2 separate regions of the Homo sapiens genome follow, and region 1 is linked to region 2. Evidence: promoter capture Hi-C in 16 types of primary human blood cells and fetal thymus (Javierre and others, 2016). All regions are on one chromosome and are shown on one strand. Each heading gives the region's core, a stretch centred on a gene start or on the middle of the fragment in contact. The rest is flanking DNA. Distances are from core to core; before and after follow the strand shown. Region 1 has its middle 82 kb from the start of AVPR1A. Region 2 holds the start of MON2-AS1 (MON2 antisense RNA 1).

Region 1 (3,279 bases), core at 277-2,776, 580 kb after region 2:
TTTCTAACTATTATACCCATTAAAACCAAGAGTCCGAGCATCCAAGTAAATTCAACAAAGATTTAGACCTTTAAATTACAGTAAGCCAAGAAAAAATAATAGGAAAACAAGAAAGGTGTTTTTGAGGCATTAAAAGAAGATACACAATTATATAAAATATTTTTATCACATCTTTAGCTCTTTTAAAATTCTATTCTTGTATGTTTCAAAATGTTCCTACTTATTTATAAGTAAATTATGAACATGGACATAAATGTTCAATCATACTGAAATCACAAAATATTATAATGCAGCAATCAAAAATATTTCTGTGCCATTATAAAGGAAATAAAATATATAATTATTTAAATACATTTAAATTTCATCTTCGTTTCATAATATCCATTTTCTATTTTCAGTCAATATTAACACATATACATATTTGTAATTTATAAAAAGTATCTGTATATTAGGGATGAGTGCTTGTGTGTTTCTGTTGCTGGAGTACAAAATCAACTTGTTTGAAGATCTATTCTAGTCCATGAAAATGCCTGGCTGTGGCCTAGAATATAATAGGTGGGTTTCTTTGATGTTGTTTAGGCTTCATTTAAATGCAAGTAGGCCTTTCTCCAGGTTGCAGTGGATGCCCACCATTGTGCTCGTGTGTGTGTGTGTGTGTGTGTGTGTGTGTGTGTGTGTGTGTGTGTGTGTGTGTTCTACAGAGTGTACAGGAAGGCTAAAAAAACCAGACAAATTCAATTTAGTTATTTGGTTAGCAAATTCAATTTTCTGATTAACTGTACTCAAGTCATGGTGAAGGGATAGAGAAGACACTGGATTGCTGCCTCAAAGGAGGTTACAATGTCACTGTCATTGGGCCAAAAGACATAAATAAGCACATGTGTGGTATAATAAAGATATAAAGTATCTTTATTATAAGTATGTGTTTAGTCTAGAGAAGGTAAATATATTGAAAGCTATGGGTCAGAAACTAGACTCAGGCTAGTTACACAGTGTTGTGTGTTGCTTTCCTAGTCTATGAAGATAATAACACCTCCCTATACACCTCACAGATCACTGCGAAATTAAAATAACTAAAAGTTGAGAACCTAATGTAACATATACAAATAACAGGAATTATATTTTAGCTTAGAAATCTACATTCTTTTAAAAGCTTTAGTTTGTTTTTTTTCTTTTTTCCTGCAAATGGAAATGATGATGGTTGGCTCCCTGTTTCAAATCTAGGCTTACTCTATTGGAGCTTTTGGAGACCTTAAATTTTAAGCTATTTCTATGTAAGATGGGGGGCAGTGAGGGATGTCTTCTACTCATGAGCTGAGCACATTAGGTTTCTTTTGAGAATTGTTATTCTTTTACTTCTTTAAAGATTGAGGGAAAACTCTCCTAATAATGCATGTTAATTAATTTATAACTCTTCTTGTTTTAGAAAAAGTTTTCAAAAGGAAAATACTGAATAAGCTGGGGTTTACTGACCTCTGATGGCCGGACTTAAAATTGCTACTTTTATCAGGCTTCTTAAGATGACAATGTAAAGCTCTTTCTGGAAACTGCCCAAGTCTAGGTTGTAAGGCAGTCAAGAATCACCAGACAAGAAGAGGGAGACCACAGGATGTCAACTAGTCAAACTTTCTTTTCTCAAGCAGGATTTATTTAGTTAATTTTAGGCTGAGGCTTTGTTAAATCGATGGTAATTTATTGAAAACACTTCAGTGTGTAAGTCAGAGTATTTCTGACCAGAAATCCCAACTCCATAAGTGGTTAATTAGCATTTAAAAGACTATCCAGAAATCCACACTAGAGAAATGGCTGACTACAGCATTTCAAATATTGCTATCTAAATCTGCAATAGAGTTTGTTAATTAGCATAGTGATATTTAACAGTATTTCTTTGGCGATCTGAAAGCTTCTGAGACATGTAGTTGGCTGGAAATATTGTACAGGCATCTTAGCTCTTACGTGAATAGGGTGTAAGAATCTGACAATAAATGTTTGTACATGGAGCAGAATTAAGTCTAAGCCTTGCTTTCATTATAGTGTACCTGGTAGCAAAGATATAAGGGAGGAGATAATAGCTCTCACCTACTTCTAATATTTGGAGGCGTCCAGAGTCACCAAAGAGAAACTGACTATGGTGAAGTGGTTAGATTGGCTTAGGTCAATTGTAACAAGCCATCCATCATGTTCCTAAAACTTTACAGAAGAAATGATTACAGAAGCTGATTTGTAGCATTTCCCTATGTTTTATACCTTATTTCATCAGCATATTCCTCCTAATTTTTACCCCAAATCACATGTGTTATAATTTAAGCATAGTTCCATTGAATACAGATAAGGAGAGAAATGAACTATCCCCAGCCAATATTATATTTTTCTGGTAGAATTAGCTTAAAAAATACATCCATGGCCAAAGACACTTGAATAGTAGTTAAGAAGATGACATTGCTTTTGCATGGCTAAATATAGCTGGGAAGTTGTTCAGATGTCCTAGGGGACACTACTGTTAGCCTAAACTGCAGTCGTCATTTTGGTACACAAGAAGCTTGTACTATGTCTGTCACTGTTCTGTCAATTTACTAGAAGGGAAATAGCAATAATAAACTTGACATTATTTTATAAAAAAATTTGTTTCATATAAATAAGTACATACTTAAAACTGGATTTATATCATATTTTCAAAAAAAATAGACTCATACTGCTTTGAAACCAGGGTCCAGTACTAACAAGTTGATCTTGAAGGCCTTTTAAGATTAGATCTCAAGGGATCTCATGACCTCACCTCCACGCCTTTCCCCTAATTTTGTCTTCTCTGCCTTAGCCTCCCTAATTTAACTTAGCAAAGTCACATGAGGTTCTTACAATGTCTTCAAGCGAGGCAGGAGTAACCACAGCAAAGAGAGGAGAGACCACTTCTGTTGCCATGCCAAGCTGCTTTTGAGGAAGCCCCCAGTAATCCCCACCTCCTGGTATTTACACCCTCTCCTTGTGTGTGGGCTGGGCCTAGTGACTCACTTATAATAAATAAAATATGGAAAAAGTGATGGAATGTCATTTCTGAGATTAGGTTAAAAAGAGATTGTGACTTCTGTCTTGGACATCCTCTCTGGCTCTTTCGCTCCCTTGTTCTAGGGGAAGCCAGCTGCCATGTTGTGAGTTTCCTTTGGGAGAGATCCATGTAGCAAGAAACTGATTATATCTGATTAACAGACGGTGAAGACCCAAGGCCTGCCAATAGCCTTGTGAGTTGGGAAGTGAATCCTTCACCAGCTGAAACTTGAGATG
Region 2 (3,413 bases), core at 125-2,624:
TAGCCAGGCATGGTGGTGGGTGCCTGTAATCCCAGCTACTTGGGAGGCTGAGGCAGGAGAATGGCTTGAACCAGGGAGGCGGAGGTTGTAGTGAGCCAAGATCGTGCCATTGGACTCCAGCCTGGGCAACAAGAGCAAAAAACTCCATCAACAATAAATAAATAAATCCAACACAGTAGTTTTACTTGATTTTGCAGTGTTCTATAATTTTTTTGTGTGTGGTGGAGAGAGAGGAGGCTTGAAATGGGGAAAAGGAGCCTAATTATTTTCAGTAGATTTTGTTTTTGTTTGTTATTTTTATTCTCGGAAAATTTAACTTTGCAGGGGATTGAGGTATTCCAGATAATGCCTTAAGGCAGAGGAAGGCAACATGTTGTAGTGCATTCAGAGTTTGCATGTGAATAATCAAATTAATCATGTTTTATTACATTTAACGTATATGTCACTACTGGGCTTAGTATCTGATGGTTTGAAAATTAAAAAGGTGGTAGGGTAGTGACTGACTTTGTGCTTGATATTTTGTCTATCACATATGACTTATTTTCCATAGATAATTCATTTTGGCAGTAAATTTTGTGTTCTAATTATTTTTATTCTTGCAGGCTGCTGAATCAGGAATAATAAAAGTTAAAACAATTGCTGCACGAAACACTGAAATTTTGGCAGGTAATTTTTTGTATTAAAAATTTAATAATAAACAAAAATTTGACTAATAGTAAAAGTAGAATCTTTATTGTAAAAGCCATCAGTTTTCTGTAACATCTCTTCCTCATGCCCTAACATATGCTATTCATAATGAAACAGAATGGGCAAAAGTCCATAACTTATGAACTGACTGTATTTCCCAGAGACGAATGCTACAAAAATTCTCTGAAATCAGAAAGCTTAACACTACTGACTCCTTAAAGGCAAGGAATTTTTTCTTACTCATCTTCGCATTCTCCTCCACTTCCTGCTAATCACCTGAGACACACCATAAAAAGCATTCAGTAATATTTGTTCCATTGTATTGAATGAAAGATTTGTTCTCAGTCCACCTTCTGTGATCTACTTTCTCTTTAATATAATACGAACAGTTCATAACATAGTCTTCTGTATTTAGTTGTACCGTATGAATTTTGAGTCTTGGGATTAAGGCAGTATGATCATGAAAAAAGAATGAGAGTGAAGTAGAGAAAAGAAAACAAAAATGTTTTCTTACCTTCTCTTGATTGAACCTGATTTTCAAGGAGGAATTTTCAGGAGTTTCTCTTTGGCATCCTTCTTTTCTACCCAGTCCACTCCTTTCTCTTCCTTGGTGCCTTTTGTTCTTGCCTCAATAATGAACATGGAAAAGAGGTAAACTGGCTTTTTTTTTTTTTTTTTTTTAAGAATCTGTTATATGCAAGGCACTTGTGTCATTCTATCTTACATAACAACCTTGTGGGGAAATATTATCTTATTTGATAGTAGAGCTAATTGAGATGTGAAGAGGTTAAGTTACTTGCCCAAGGTCACAGGAAAGGTGATAGAACCAGATTAAAATCCAGGAGTGTTCAGGAGCCCATGTTCTTCCTGCTACAGTGTGCTACCATGGTATCACCAGGTTTCCACGTTAGCCACTTACTCCCAAGTATTACATATGTAACCAGTGCTTGCTTCAGTGATCCTTTAATCTGCATTTCCAGTTCCAGTAGTGCTGTTGATCTCAGCTAATCTATGAGGAAAGTAGTCCTATTAAATTAATTTACAGAGTCCAAATAGTAAATAATCTCTTTAACTTTCATATACTTTACATTTTTTAAAAGGGATACCAGTAAATCTGTAACTGGTGGGATTTCAGAGTGTTATGAAATGAAATTAAGATTTTTGGGGTCAGATTAAGGATCGGGGGCAAGAGTGGATTTCACTTAGGCTATCCAGCTTTGCTGGAAATTTGCCCTTAGCATAAGCGCTCCTCAATTACATCTGTTTCCCACAGCTTTTTCCCTGATTTTGAACAGTCTTATCAAAACACCCAATAGTTTTATAACATTATGCACAGAAGTAAATAATGCTCTGTGTGCATATTGAGAAGTGGTATAGTGAAAGTGGTGGGTAAAGGCAGAGGTGCACATGGTAGGGTTAGGAAGGCTGGCAAGTGGGTTTTTTTTGTTTGTCTGTTTGTTTTTCCTGAGATGGACTTTTGCTCTTGTTATCCCAGCTGGAGTGCAATGGTGTGGTCTCGGCTTACTGCAACCTCTGCCTCCTGGGTTCAAGCGATTCTCCTGCCTCAGCCACCCGAGTAGCTGAGATTTCAGGTGCCCAACACCACATCTGGCTAATTTTTGTATTTTTAGTAGAGACAGGGTTTCATCATGTTGGCTAGGCTGGTCTCGAACTCCTGACCTCGGGGTTCTCCCGCCTCGGCCTCTCCAAGTGTTGGGATTACAGGCGTGAGCCACTGCGCCCGGCCAGCATGTGGGTTTTAATGGGAGATGTACATTAGGCAGATTAGCTACTGTGGGGAAATTGGTGTTTAAAGAAAAATGATGACCTGGATATTTTTATGTTGGAGACTTACCATAGGCCAATCGTATTAGAATATCACTGTAAATATTTAAAATATTTACTGTTGCTAATATCATTGTTGATACCGTGGTAAGTCCTTAATTATTCTCCAATAATACAAATTTTTATTGGTTTTATAGTTTGTGGAAGACTTTTTTTAAAAAAAGACTGATTTCCTCAGAGGATCACTGTTATTCCAGCATTCTATCCCAAGTAAAATGTCTAATAAATTACTCTTAAGATGAGTAAGAAAAATTTTGACTTAGTCGGTATGATTTAAATATATAGGCAGGCTGTTAATTTCATTTTAATTCAATTTGCATTATTCAAATCAAGTTAGAACAGATCTGGTGCAAATACAATTAATAGTCATGTTTTAATCTTCGTAGTATCCAGAGCCCATATACTTGAGGAGGTATATTTGCACTTAAACTTTATCCTAGTATTTTTTCTGAAGTATTTAAAGCAATTATACCTAAAAGTTGTAGATTTATAGACCACTATCATCTTGAAAATCAGAGGCTCTTCAAAACAGAGTTTAAATTAGTCAGTATATAGTTTCTAAACTATATAATTAAGAGTACAGTTAATACTGAGAAAAATTTTTAGTTAACTTTTTAAAATTTCATGAGAAGTATTTACTTCTTTATGGTACTTGAGACTATAGGAGACTATACTACTTTTGTGCTCTAATGTATGTCAAAAATACCAAACAATTGAGGAGTCTCAAATGAGATTGGATATTGAAATCTCATATGTCTCTGTATATTCAGAATATATAAAGATTTGTTGTAAGAATGATAACTTTTAATTTGGATCAAGTAGTTTAATTAATGATACTCGGCATAGATTTCTAGTCAACTTTAGTTTTCTTAGATTTATTT

What was found. Contacts are between HindIII fragments. The CHiCAGO score rates a contact against its expected background, and 5 or more counts as called.
Region 1: a fragment that was not itself captured here is called in contact with the fragment with the promoter of MON2-AS1 in region 2 in 4 of 17 cell types (M1 macrophages, endothelial precursors, erythroblasts and 1 more); the score reaches 7.0 in M1 macrophages.

What each region holds. Positions count from the first base shown.
Region 1 is chr12:63,067,573-63,070,851 of GRCh38, forward strand. No RefSeq gene overlaps it. Among named protein-coding and RNA genes, the nearest start is that of AVPR1A, 82 kb to the right of the region's middle. The HindIII fragment of the contact is 750 bases long and covers 1,152-1,901 here.
Region 2 is chr12:62,483,568-62,486,980 of GRCh38, forward strand. MON2-AS1 (MON2 antisense RNA 1) reads right to left here and starts at 1,375. Exons shown (of 2, transcript NR_186172.1): 1 at 1,202-1,375. MON2 (MON2 regulator of endosome-to-Golgi trafficking) reads left to right here. Exons shown (of 35, transcript NM_015026.3): 2 at 603-666. The HindIII fragment of the contact is 7,471 bases long and covers 883-3,413 here.